Regions from separate parts of the Homo sapiens genome. Here region 1 is linked to region 2. Evidence: promoter capture Hi-C in human tissues and cell types (Jung and others, 2019). All regions are on one chromosome and are shown on one strand. The core of a region is centred on a gene start or on the middle of the fragment in contact, and the rest is flanking DNA. Distances in the headings are between cores, read along the strand shown.

The links. Contacts are between HindIII fragments. The study calls those that stand out against the background at their distance.
Region 1: a contact is called between a fragment that was not itself captured here and the fragment with the promoter of PRF1 in region 2, in 2 of the 25 tissues and cell types used here (H1 embryonic stem cells and mesenchymal stem cells).

The regions. Positions count from the first base shown.
Region 1 is chr10:70,653,520-70,660,886 of GRCh38, reverse strand. No RefSeq gene overlaps it. Among named protein-coding and RNA genes, the nearest start is that of ADAMTS14, 15 kb to the left of the region's middle. RefSeq lists an enhancer at 1-9. The HindIII fragment of the contact is 4,466 bases long and covers 2,586-7,051 here.
Region 2 is chr10:70,601,355-70,608,232 of GRCh38, reverse strand. PRF1 (perforin 1) reads left to right here and starts at 5,492. Exons shown (of 3, transcript NM_001083116.3): 1 at 5,492-5,588. The HindIII fragment of the contact is 18,183 bases long and covers 1-6,878 here.

The DNA of each region.
Region 1 (7,367 bases), core at 3,569-6,068, 53 kb before region 2:
TGTGTTCAAGTAACTCTTACTTTACATAGCAGTGGCCCCAAGACGCAAGAGTAGTGATACTGACAATGCAGCTGTGCCTAAGAGAAGCTGTATCATGCTTCTTTTAACTGAAAAGGTGAAAGTTTTCAACTTAATTAGGAAAGAAAAAAAAATTGTACAATGAGATTACGAAGATCTTCTGTGAAATTGTGAAGAAGGAAAAAGAAGTTCATGCTAGTTTTGCTGTCACACCTGAAACTGCAAAAGTGACAGCCACAGTACATAATAAATGCTTAGTTAAGATTGAAAAGGCGGCTGGGCGTGGTGGCTCACACCTGTAACCCCAGCACTTTGGGAGGCCAAGGTGGGCAGATCATGAGGTCAGGAGTTCGAGATCAGCCTGGCCAACATGGTGAAACCCCGTCTCTACTAAAAATATAAAAAATTAGTGGGGCATGGTGGCACACACATATACTCCCAGCTACTAGGGAGGTTGAGGCAGGAGAATCACTTGAACCCGGGAGGTGTAGGTTGCAGTGAGCCAAGATCATGCCACTGCACCCCAGCCTGGGAGATAGAGCAAGACTCTGTCTCAAAAAAAAAAAAAAAAAAAAGACAAAAAAAAAACCCCGAGGGCAGTGAAGGCATACAGGCATGCCTTGGGGATGTTGCGGGTTTGGTTCTGGACCACCACAATAAAGCAAATATTGCAATAAAGTGAGTCACACAATTTTTTTGGCTGCCCAGTGCACATAAAAGGTATATTTATGCTATTATGTGTACAATAGCATTATATCTAAAAAACAATGTACATGCCTTAATTTAAAAATACTTTATTGCTAAAAAATGCTAACAATCATCTGAGCCTTCAGCAAGTCATAATCTTTTTGCTGTGGAGGGTCTTGCCTCCATGTTGATGGCTGCTGACTGATCAGGGTGGTGGTTGCTGAAGGCTGGGGTGGCTGTGGCAATTTCTTGAAATAAAACAACCATGAAATTGGCCATATCGATTAACTCTTCCTTTCACAAAAGACATCTCTGTAGCACACAATGCTGTTTGATAGCATTTTACCCATAGTAGAACTTATTTTAGGATTGGAATCAATCCTCTTAAACCCTGCCACTGCTTTATCAACTAAGTTTATGGAATATTCTAAATCCTTTGTTGTAATTTCAACAATATTCACAGCATCTTCACCAGGAGTAGGTTTCATCTTAAGAAACCACTTTCTTTGCTCATCCATAAAGAAGCAACCCCTCAACCATTCAAGTTTGATCATGAGATGGCAGCAATTCGGTCCCATCTTCAGGCTCTTCTTCCAATTCTAGTTCTCTTGCTTATTTCTACCACATCTGCAGTTACTTCCTCCACTGAAATGTTGAATCCCTCAGAGTCATTCATGAGGGTTGCAATCAACTTCTTACAAACTCCAGACTTCCAGACTTGAGCAAGATTATGACTTGCTGAAGGCTCAGATGATCATTAGCATTTTTTAGCAGTAAAGTATTTTTAAATTAAGGTCCATACATTGTTTTTTAGACATAATGCTATTGTACATGTAATAGCATAAATATAACTTTTATATGCACTGGGCAGCCAAAAAAAATCCTGTTAATGTTGACATTTTTATCTCCTTCCATGAGTCATGAATGTTCTTAATGACATCTCTAATGGTGAATCCTTCCCAGAAGGTTTTCAACTTACTTTGTCCAGGTCAGTCAGACGGATCACTATCTATGGCAGCTATCACTTTATGAAATGTATTTCTTAAGTAATAAGACTTGAAAGTCAAAATTACTTGATCCGTGGGTGCAGAACAGATGATGTGTTAATAGGTATGAAAACAACATTCATCTCCTTGTACATCTCCATCACAACTCTTGGTAACCAGGTGCATTGTTAGTGAACAGTAGTATTTTCAAATGAATCTTTTTTTCTCAGCAGTAGGTCTCAACAGTGGGCTTAAAACATTCAGTAAACTATGCTCTAAACAGATATGCTGTCATCCAAGCTTTGTTGTTCCACTTCTAGAGCACAGACAGAGTGGATTTATCATAATTCTTAAGGGCCCTAGGATTTTCAGAATGGCCATTGAGCATTGGCTTAAACTTAAAGTCACCAGCTACATTAGCCCCTAACAAGAGAGCCAGCCTGTCCTTTCAAGCTTTGAGGCCAGGCATTGACTTCTCCTCTCTAGCTATGGAAGTCCTAGATGGCATCTTTTTCCCATATAAGGCTGCTTTGTCTCCAGTGAAAATCTGTTGTTCAGTGTAGCCACCTTCATTGATGGTCTTAGCTAGATCTTCTGGATAACTTGCTGCAGCTTCTACATCAGCACTTGCTGCTTATACTTTTACATCAAAGAGATAGCTTATTTCCTTAAACCTCAGAAACTGACCTCTGCTAGCTTCCAACTTTTTTTTCTTTTTCTTTTTCTTGTGTGTGTGTGTGTGTGTCAGGGTCTCACTCTGTCACTCAGGTTGGAGTGGAGTGGTGTAATCATGGCTCACTGCAACCTCCACCTCCCGGTCTCAAGAGATTCTCCCACCTCAGCCTCCCAAGTAACAGAGACCACAGGCATGCACCACCACACCCAGTTAATTTTTTTTTTTTTTTTTTTTGTAGCAACAGGTTTTCTCCATGTTGCCCAGGCTGATCTCAAAACTCCTGGACTTAAGTGATCCACCTGCCTCGGCCTCCCAAAGTTCTAGGATTACAGGTGTGAGCCACCATACCCAGCCCCAACTTCTTTTCTGTAGCTTCCTCACCTCTCTCTGCCTTTATAGAACTGGAGAGAGTTAGGGTCATGCTCTGGATTAGGCTTTGCCTTAAGGGAATGTTATGGTTAGTTTGATCTTCTATTCAGACTACTCAAACTTTCTCCATATCAGCAATAAAGCTGCTTCACTTTCTTATCATTCCTGTGTTCACTGAAGTAGCACTTTTAATTTCCTTCAAGAACTTTTCCTTTGCATTTGTAACTGTTTGGTACAAGAGGCCTCATTTTCAGCCTTTTTCTGCTTTCCATATGCCTTCCTCACTAAGCTTCATCATGTCCAGCTTCTTATTTGAAGCAAGATATGCCACCCTTCCTTTCACTTGAACGCTTAAGGCAGCATTGTAGGGTTATTACTTGGCCTAATTCCAATATTGTTGTGTCTTGGAGAATAGGGAGGCCAAAAGAGAGGGAGAGATGAAGGAATGGCCAGTTGGTGGAGCAGTCAGAACACACACAACATTTATTGATTAAATTTGCTGTCTTAGGGGCACGGTTTGTGGCACCCCAAAATAATTACAATAGTAACATCAAAGATCAATAATTACAGATTACCATAACAGATATAATAATAATGAAAAAGTCTGAAATATTGCCAGAATTACCAAAATGTGACACAGAGACATGAAGTGAGCACATGCTGTTGGAAAAATGGCACCAATAGACTTGCTCAAAGCAGGATTGCCACAAACCTTTACTTTGTTTTTTAAAAATGGAGTATCTGCCAAGCATAATAAAGCAAAGCATAATAAAATAGATATGATTGTATACTATTGGCATTTCTGCCTTTTTCTTAGTCCCATAAACTGAAAGCCCGGAATGACCGAGAAGGCCTTATTCGCTGCACCCACTGAAAGGGCAGCCAGGTCGGAGGTGAAGTGACATTTGCTTATTTTCAGGATGACTTGCTCCCTTTCAAACTGGGAGACACAGAGGTACTCATGCTCTGCCTGAGAAATTATTGCCTTCCAAGCCCAGCTGCTCAGAGCCTTCACAAGCCCAGCTTCAAGTCATCCTAAGTTGGAAGTTGTCATCCATGTGTTCCTTTAGAACAGGGAGTTGCCTTTACTTCCCGCCCCCACCCCCCGACCACATCTGGCCATGGAGGAGGGCACAGACCCTTACTGAGCACCCACTATATATCTGGACCCATGGAAAGCACAGCCAGCCCCTCTAATTCTGCTCTCCATTTGCAAACTTTGAACTAAATTCAGATGACTTAAATGTATACCTGCTTGTGATCCATCAAGTGGTAAAGATGGTATTGTGTATGATGTGTAGCATTTCCCCAGCAGAAGAAAATACCAGCTGTGGCTGGGAGGTAGGAGGCCAGGTTCCCATCAAAACTCTGTGGTTAACTGGCTGAGTAGCTCTAGGCAGTGCCTTCCGCTCTCTGCATCCCAGCCTCATCTGAACTATGAGTGGGTGGATGAGATCACTTCTGCAAAGCCTCTGAGCCCTGCTGGTCCATGACTCAGCCCCCAGGCCTTTGCACAGGCTGTTTCCTCAGCCTAGGATGCCTTTTCCCCATGCATCCGCCTGGCAAGCTGAGTCTTCCTTTGAATCCTTTTTCAGTAGCCACTTCCTCCGTGAAGCACTCCCAGACACAGAACCATCCTGCTCTCCCACCAGAACATCATTCAGTACTCTCTCTTCTGTTCCACATCTGTACCTTGGACATAAGTCAACTGTGCTGAAAGGCACAGTAGGCTTCCTGTGCTGAAATTATTCACAGGCTTAATAACTGCAAAATAAAACCTTCAATTCAGCTTTACCTACTGTCTAGCATAGAGCCTGGGACAAAGTAGAGGCCCTATAAAGCCTTCATGAATCAACGAACACATGCATGAACTCTTTATGATTTCTTAACCCTATTCCAGTGTTAGGAGATTGCCATTATGGTCAAGAGAAAGACACACGCTTCTTGCTGAAGCATTTCTTATATGTTTCTCAAGGGCAGGTGCCATTCCTCACTCATCTTTTGTCTCACCAGGGATAGGCACTGAGTAGGTGCTCAGTAAATATGTGTCACATTGAACAATGTTGACATATGACCCCAGCCCCAGCCCTCCACACTGGGAGAGCAGTCTCTCCAGGGGGCTAAATAATTTCTCTAAGAATTTGAACTCATCATCACAAAGGGTGTGTAAATTAGGGATTAGATTTGGAAAGAAAATATCTACATTGGCACTAGTGCAGGGACCTGCAGGCCAAGCTATGGGTGACATGGTGGCATTTGCAAAGAAAACCCCACCAGCTCCAATAGTGTGCTCAGGAGTGTTACGGTGGGTAGCTAGTGAGACATGAACAGGGCAGAAGAGGGCCCCTACACCCCACCAGGAAAATCAGGCGATCATTAGGTGATGGTTAGGCAGTTGTCACACTGCCTCTCTAAAATAGTAATAGGTCTCAACCAGCACCAGGAAAAGGCATTCTGCCTGTAGATAGAAAACACCTAAAACTGGTGATCATCAGTTTCCTATAAGATCTCAGGAGCTGGGCGAGTGGGCTCAAGCACGTGCATTAAGACACGAAATGGCGGAGTTGACCTTCCAGGAGCATTCCACCAGTAAAAGGGAAGAACTCCTCGGGTGAGCATGTGTACAACTCCAGTAAACACACTGCACATGCTACCCCCCAAAGGGCTAGCAGGCCACCGTGCACGCGGGCAGCTCACCCCAAGGGAAGAATCAAGCGAGAAGGCCGGGCATGGTGGCTCATGCCTGTAATCCTAGTACTTTGGGAGGCCGAAGTGGGCAAATCACCTGAGGTCGGGAGTTCAAGACCAGCCTGACCAACATGGAGAAACTCTATCTCTACTAAAAATACAAAATTAGCCAGGCATGGAGCACGCCTGTAATCTCAGCTACTCAGGAGGCTGAGGCAGGAGAATCACTTGAACCTGGGAGGTGGAGGTTGTGGTGAGCTGAGATTGCACCATTGCACTCCAGCCTGGGCAACAAGAGCAAAACTCTATCTAAAAAAAAAAAAAAAAAAAGAATCAAGTGAGAAGGGACGCAAGACCCCAGAAGCATGCCAACGTATAAAACCCCAAGTCAAAAGGTCAAGTCCTGCACTTGTTCTTCAAGTTACCTGCTTGGGCCTCTTCGAAGTGTATTTTCCTTGCTTTCATTCCTGCTCTAAAGCTTTGGGGGTTTTGTTGTTGTTGTTGTTGTTGTTGTTGTTGTTGTTGTTGTTAGAAAGAGTCTCGCTCTGAAGCCCAGGCTGGAGTGCAGAGGCACGATCTCACCCCACTGCAGAGTTTCAAGTGATTCTCCTGCCTCAGCCTCCTGAGTAGCTGGGATTACAGGCGCCCGCCACCACGCCCAGCTAATTTTTGTATTTTTAGTAGAGATGGGGTTTCACCATGTTGGCCAGGCTGGTCTCGAACTCCTGACCTCAAGTGATCCGCCTGCCTCGGCCTCCCAAAGTGCTGGGATTACAGGCATGAGCCACCACGCCCAGCCTCTAAAGCTTTTTAATAAACTTTCACTCCTGCTTCAAAACTTGCCTTGGTCTCTCCTTCTGACTTATGCCCCTCAGTCAAATTCTTTCTTCTGAGGAGGCAAGAACTGAGGTTGCTGCACACCTGTATGGATGTGCCACCACAAGCAAGAGAACCATTACTACCATGGTTTATGGTCCAGGCTTAAGTAAAAAGGTTCCCAGGGAGACAACATCTCCTACCAACACAACAACAGTAATATTGATATGTTCGTGGAGTAAAGTGTGGGTCTTGCAGGCTGCTGTTAAAAGGCTGTGCTTGTCCGGGCATGGTGGCTCACACCTATAATCCCAGCACTTTGGGAGACCGAGGTGGGCAGATCACTTAAGGTCAGGAGTTTGAGAGCAGCCTGGACAACATGGCGGAACCCCGTCTCTACTAGAAATACAAAAATTAGCTGGGTGTGGTGGTGAATGCCTGTAATCCCAGTTGCTTGAGAGGCTGAGGCATGCGAATCGCTTGGACCCAAAAGGCGAGAGTTGCAGTGAGCTGAGATCATGCCACTGCACTCCAGCCTGGGTGATAGGGCAAGACTCCATCTCAAAAAAAAAAACGGGGGCTTCTGCTAAGAGCTCCACCCGGGACAGCTGGATATGCCAAGTGTCACCCAGCCAGGGATAACTTTTCCTCCTTCCTTCTCTTAGGACTCAAGGTCAGATTAAAATGGATTCTACTGTGTTTTTTTCATGTAACCCTCATGGGGTAGGTATTGTTTTCATTTCACAGACAAGGCAAACTGAGGTCCAGAGAAGTTAAATAACCAGCCCAAAGCCACACAGCTAGTAAGTGGCAGAGTTGGGATGTGGAGGTAGCTCTTCAGACTCCAAAATCCACTCCCCATTCCTCACACTCCTTTAGTGTCTGCAAACTCTCAGCATATCATTTCTCGCCAAATCATTCACCTCATGACAGTTCCTCATAGTGCAGGGCCTGCCACAGTGCCTAGAGCTGGGCTGTACCACAGCCATAACTCAGGATAGACAGTGAGCCACTGATTAAGTTCTGCGCTCAAGGCAGAAATCTCTCCTGCAGCCTGGACTAAGGAGGTGAGAAAGGAGATCAGCCTCCAGGGTTGAACCTTGGGAACTGAGTGCGGCCTGATACAC
Region 2 (6,878 bases), core at 4,243-6,742:
TATCCAATTTTACACTTGTGGGCATGAAGCACGGCGCTCCAGCCATGGAGCATGGTATCCATGGGGCAACCAAAGGGACAACCACTGTAGACCACACTGCACCTAGGCCCACTAGCCACACTTGAGGTGACCAACGAGCTCTGTGCCAGAATGCATGGAGTAGAAATTTGATGCAGCCCTGGGCAGCAAACCACAAAGCCCCAAAGGCATCCTGGGTCCCTCCCTTGAAACCATTCGGACCACAAAACCCTGGCACTCTGGGCCTGTAATAGTAGTGGCAGCCTTGAGGATCTCCAAAATGCCTTGGGGGCCATTTTCCCATCGTCTTGATGAATATCACCTGGCATTCTTCTAGCCATATAAATCTCCCTATCAAACATTCACTTGGCCACACCATTGGTATTCTCTCTCAAACACTTTCTCATTCTTTACAACCTGGCCACGCTGAGAACTTTCCAACTCTTTTAAGTTCTACTTCCCTTTTAACTATATGTTTCACCCTTAATTCATTTCTCTCATCTTGTATTTTACTGTAAGCAATCAAGAAAAGCCATGCTGCATCCTCAACACTTTGCTTAGAGATTTCTTCTACCAAATATACTCTTTCGTTGCTCATAAGTTTTGCCTTCCACAAAACACTAGAACACAAACACAATGCAGCCAAATTCTTTGCCACTTTATAACAAGGATCACCTTTCTTCCACTTAACAAGAAGATGTTTCTTATTTCCATCTAAGACCTCATCAAAGTAGCCTTTACCGTTTATATTTCTACCAATGTTCCACTTGCAACCACTTAAATAATCTCTAAAATGATTGAAGCTCTCTCTACAGTTCTCCTCGTCTTCTGAACCCTCACTAGAAAAACCCTTTATAGTCCGTTCACAGAAATACAAGTTTTTTTCAGCATGAACCTCAAACTCTTCCAGCCTCTACCCATTACTCAGCTGCAAAGCTCCTTCCACATTTTTAGGTATTTGTTACAGCAGCACCCCACTCCCAGCACAATTTCTTGCTTAGTCTACTCCTGCTGCCATAGCAAAATATGTTAGACTGGATAATTTATAAATAATAGAAATGTATTTCTCACAGTTATGGAGGCTGGAAAGTTCAAGATCAAAGTACCAGCAGACGTGGTATCTGGTGAAAGTTTGCTCTCTGCTCCACAGACGGTGCCTGTTGCTGTGACCTCATATGGTGGAAGGGCAGAAGAGCAAGAAGGTACAAACAGACTCCCTCAAGCCCTTTTATAAGGGCACTAATCCCATTCATGAAGGCAGAACCCTCATGACCTAATTACCTCCTAAAGGCCCCACTCCTTAATACTATTGCATTGAGGATTAAGTTTCAACATGAATCTTGGAGGGACATGAACATTCCAAGATAGCAAGATTTATGGCACTGTTCTATCTAAAGCAGGTATTTTATAACCTAAAAAAATCAAAACCATATACGATATCCACATGCAAAAGAATGAAGTTGGACCCCTTTCCATACACAAAAATTAACTCCAAATGGATAATAGACCTAAATATAAGAGCTAAAACTATAAAACTCTTAGAAGAAAACATAGGAATAAATCTTCATGATCTTGGATTAGGCAGAACCTTCTTAGATATGGCATTAAAAATATAAGCAACAAAAGAAAAAAATAGGTAAATTGAACTTCAACAAAAGTAAAAAAATTTTTTTTTTTTTGAGACAGAGTCTTGCTCTGTCACCCAGGCTGGAGTGCAGTGGCATGATCTCGGCTCACTGTAAGCTCCGCCTCCTGGGTTCATGCCATTCTCCTGCCTCAGCCTCCTGAGTAGCTGGGACTACAGGCGCCCGCCACCACGCCCGGCTAATTTTTTGTATTTTTTTAGTAGAGACGGGGTTTCACTGTGTTAGCCAGGATGGTCTCGATCTCCTGACTTCGTGATCCGCCTGCCTCGGCCTCCCAAAGCGCTGGGATTACAGGCATGAGCCACCCCTCCCGGCCTGTAAAATCTTTTTTTTTTTTTTGAGACAGTGTCTCGATCTGTCACCCAGGCCAGAGTAAAGCGGTGCGATCTTGGCTCATTGCAGCCTCGACCCCTCAGGCTCAAGAAATCCTCCCACCTAAGCCTTCTGAGTAGCTTGGACTACAGGGGTGTGTGTGTGCCACCACTCTCAGCTAATTTTTTTTTTTTTTTCCAGAGACAGGGTCTTGCCATGTTGCCCAGGCTGGTCTCGAACTCCTGGGCTCAAGCAATCCTCGCACCTCAGCCTCCCAAATAGCTGGAACTATTTGGAACTATCCCAAAAAGCAGGCACACATCACCATGCCTGGCTAATTTTTGTATTTTTTGTACAGACAGGGTTTTGCCACATTGCCTAGGTTGGTCTTGAATTCCTGGACTTAAGCGATCCTCCTACCTTGGCCTCCCAAAGTGCTGGCATTACAGATGTGAGCCACCATGCCTGGCCAAAAGTAAAATATTTTTATACTTCAAGGGCACCCTCAAGAAAGTGAAAAGAAAGACAACTGCCAAAATAGGAAAAAATATTTGCAAATTCTATATCTGACAAGGGTCTAGAAGTCAAAACGTAGAAAGAGCTATTACAATTCAACAATAAAAAGACAACTCAGTTCAAAATAGGGGCAAAGGACTTGAATAGACATTTCTCCAAAGAAGGTGTACAAATGGCCAATAAGCATATGGAAAGATGTTCAACTTCATTAGCCACTGGGGAGATCCAAGTCAAAACCACAATGAGGTACGACTTCACACCCACCAGGATGGCTATAATCAAGGTTTGGCAAGGAACTAGTGGAACCTTGGTTTGATTTGGAAAGGAGGAATTAGAACTCTCATAAGCTGCTGGAGAAATGCAAAACAATGCAATCACGTTGGAAAACACTTCCTCAAAAAGTTAAACCTATAGTTACCACATGTCCCAGCAAGTCCACTCCTAGATATATACTCAGGAGAAATGGAAACATATGTCCACACAGTAACCTGTACACAAATGTTCATAACAGCATTATTCATAACAGCTAAAAAGTAGAAACAACCAATAAATCCATCAGTTATGAATGGGTAAACAAATTGTGATATGTCCATATAATATAATATTATTCAGCCATGAAATGGACTAAAGTACTGATACATGCTACAACATGGATGAACCTTGAAAGTATTATGTTAAATGAAACAAGCCAGACACAAAAGGCCACATATGCTATGATTCTTTTTATATGAATTGTCGAAAATGGGAAAATTAACAGAGAGATAAAGTAGATTAGCGTTATGAAGAAATGAGAAATGGCCAGGCACGGTGGCTCACGCCTGTAATCCCAGCACTTTGGGAGGCCAAGGTGGGCTGATCACTTGCAGATCAGGAGTTCAAGACCAGCCTGGCCATCATGGTGAAACCCCGTCTCTACTAAAAATACAAAAAAAAAAAAAAAAAATTAGCCAGGCGTGGTAGCGCATGCCTGTAGTCCCAGCTACTGGGGAGGCTGAGGTGGGAGAATCGCTTGAACCTGGGAGGCAGAGGTTGCAGTAAGCCGAGATCATGCCACTGCACTCCAGTCTGGGTGACAAATCAAGACTTCATCTCAAAAAAAAAAAAAAAAAGAAAAAGAAAAAGAAAAAGAAATGAGAAATGACCACCAGTGGGTATAGGTTTTATTTCTGGAAAGTGATGAAGATGTTCTAAAATTGACTGTAGCGGTGGCTGTACAACTCTGTGAACATACTAAAGCCATTGAATCATATACTTGAAATGGGTGAATTATATGGTATGTGAATTACATCTAAAGATTGTTGTTACTAAAGAAAACCATATACATGGTGTCTGGTGATTGAACAAATTACGCACTTGTTGAAACTTGTGTCTCTGAGGAAAAACTCTGCTTAATGCACATTCAAGTGTCAAGTTTCAGAAGGACAGCTGTCATCAGTTAAACGAGTCAAAAACAGTCATCACCCTCAATGTCATTTCGGCTCTTTAATGGATCCCCTAACAACCACTAGCATCTCTTGGGCATTAGCCACTTCATAAGCCACTTGAAACCTGCCAAGTGTACATTTTATCATTAGCTGGAAGGATGTGTAGAATTCCAAAGTCCTCTCTTTGATTTTATAGGTGAGGAAACTAACGCTCAGAAAGGGGGTTGATATCTATCGCCGTGAGGCATACGGTAAGTTTCTGGTGAAGCTGGGATCAGAACCTGTTTAGACTTTGCCTCTCTTTTCCCGCAGATACTTTGCAGGACTTCTATGTCCCTCAAACCGGCCTTCCTGTCATGGTCAGGAAAGAAACTCCTCACAGCCTCAGCATCCAAGTCAGGCCATGGGTGACAGCTGGAAAGTGATCAGGAGGCTGCAGTTTCTAGAAGAGGGTGGGGACACTGCGGAGAGAAGATGGGGCCAGATTCCGAGAAGACAGCATAAGCCCCTGTTCCTGTAAGAGCAGGGACGGAAGCAGGGACATAAACGCAAGGGATGAGCCCCAAAGTGTGACCCATGAGACATGATGTCACATGTGGTCTGGAGCCTGCGGCCACTTCTTCCCATCATATACACAGTTATGAGAACAAGTTGTGAGAACCACCTCCTCCCTTACCCAGCTGCCCCCACCCCAGAAGCCGTGTGATTTTGCCCCCCAGTGCCCTGTGAGTCACTCCACCCATGGAAACCTCACCCCACCCTGACCTCAAGCAAGGCAGAGTGCAGAAGACATGTCCTCCGGTGCTACCAGACCACTCTCACCAGCACCCACGACCTCAGCAGGGCTGGAGCCAGCGTGGAGGCCACTGGCTGTCCTCACAAAGCGAGGAGCAGGAGCCCCTGTTCGAGGAACATGCTTGGAGTTCGGAGCCTGGGCTAGGGTGGGATGTAGGTTGAGCAGGAAGTGGATGGCAAGATTAGAGCAACATCTCTCTTCTCCCACTCAGGGAGGAGGGAATGGCCACAGGCTCTGACACTCAAGAAGGGCCAGGCACAGTTCCAAGCACTTCACAACAACCCCTAGGGTCTACATGACCTACAATCCCAATTGTTCAGTGAAGAAACTGAGGCACAGTGAGGCTGAAGAACCCTACCAGTCCACACTGCTGGTGCATAACCGAGCTGCCCAAGCCCCGGCGGTCTGGCGTGTAGGCCCATGCTCTGAGCCGCCGCCTCTGCTTGCCTCTTACATCCCACACATGCGATGCTGTGCATCAGAAGCAAGGAGATGGCCCTGCTGGCCTGTTCATCAACACCAGGGCCGAGTCTCAAAGTCCTCAGCGCCCCGCCCTCCTCCGCCTGTGTGCCCTGAGTCCCCGAGCCCCAGCAGCTCTACTCGGCAGATGAGCCTCTGGCCCTGCTGCTCGCTTCCTGAGGGCTGTCAGTGGGGAGCCGGATGAGGGCTGAGGACAGGGTGGGTGCTTGTGGGAGGGGAGAGCACAAAGGACCTGTGACCACAGCTGGGGGCGGGGCAGGAAGTAGAAGTGATGTGAGTGGTGGCTGGTGCAAGGAGCCACAGTGGGCTGCCTGGGGGGCTGATGCCACCATTCCAGGAGCCTCGGTGAAGAGAGGATATCCATCTGTGTAGCCGCTTCTCTATACGGGATTCCAGGTAAGGAGAGAGCAGGGATTGGGGGGCCTGGGGCCCTGGGTGGAGGGGAAGAGGCTGATGGAGCAGGAAGTGCTGTGACCTATAAGACAAGACACCTGGGTCACAGACGGTGCCCATCACTAACTCGCTGGGCAGCCCTGTGTCCACCCTGGGCCTCAGTTTCCTCATGTATGAAATGAAGAGGTAGCGTGCAGTTTCTAAGGCCCTGCAAGTGCTGACATTAAAGCTTCTAAGAAAGCTGGAAAGAGGCTCCCTGGGACAGAATACCATGAGAGTCAGGATGAGGGCTGAGTTCACTGGATTAGGGTTATGACTGTGCCCGCCTCCTAGCTGGGATGAGCCCAGGGCCTTTGAAGATTCCCCTGGCCTCTTTGCCTCCCTGGGGCGAGCCACGCTGCCTGAAATTCCACCCTTCAAGTCACACCTTTGGGCAGGGCAGGAGGCTCCAGCTATAATGGGGGCTCTCCATAGCCCTCTTGTCTCAGAACCTGTGGTACCCAAGGGCAAAGGCCTTTGAAGAGCTCAGCTTGGATAAGGTTAGGCTTGGGTAAGGTTAGAGAAAGGAGGTTCCAGATCATAAACAGGCCCAGGCAAGGCCCCAGAAACACCTTAAAATTAGGAAGAACCTTCCAGACAATCATTGTCCATAGTAGGCAATAGGGGGGCCCCTGTCACTGCCGAAGGCCACAGAGCTTGGCAGGGAGTGGCAAAGAGGGGAGGGGCAGCAAGAAAGGATCTGAAGAGCAACCATCGAGGCCTCTCCCCACACAAAATCCAAGGGTGTGGTCAGGTCTGCCCCTTTTTTTTTTTTTTTTTGAGGCAGAGTCTTACTCTATCACCCAGGCGGGAGTGCAGTGGTACGATCTTGGCTCACTGCAACCTCCGCCTCCTGGGTTCAAGCGATTCTCCTGTCTCAGCCTCCCAAGTAGCTGGGATTACAGGCACCCGCCACCATGCCCAGCTAATTTTTGTATTTTTAGTAAAGAGGGGGTTTCACCACGTTGGCCAGGCTGGTCTCGAACTTCTGACCTCCAGTGATCCACCTGCCTCTGCCTCCCACAGTGTTCGGTTTACAGGTGTGAGCCACCACACCTGGCCAGGTCGGCAGATTTTATTCTAGAATTCGGGCTGATGTTATTCCATAAAGCTCAGAGGGAGAGCCCCAAAGGGAAAATGAGAAGAATAGGTGCAATATAGGACCTCATTTCTCTTCCAATTCTGTTAAGGGCTCAGTGGGAGGGAGAGAGGTTAGAGAGAGTGACAGAGACAAAGAAACAGAGTGAGAGTCAG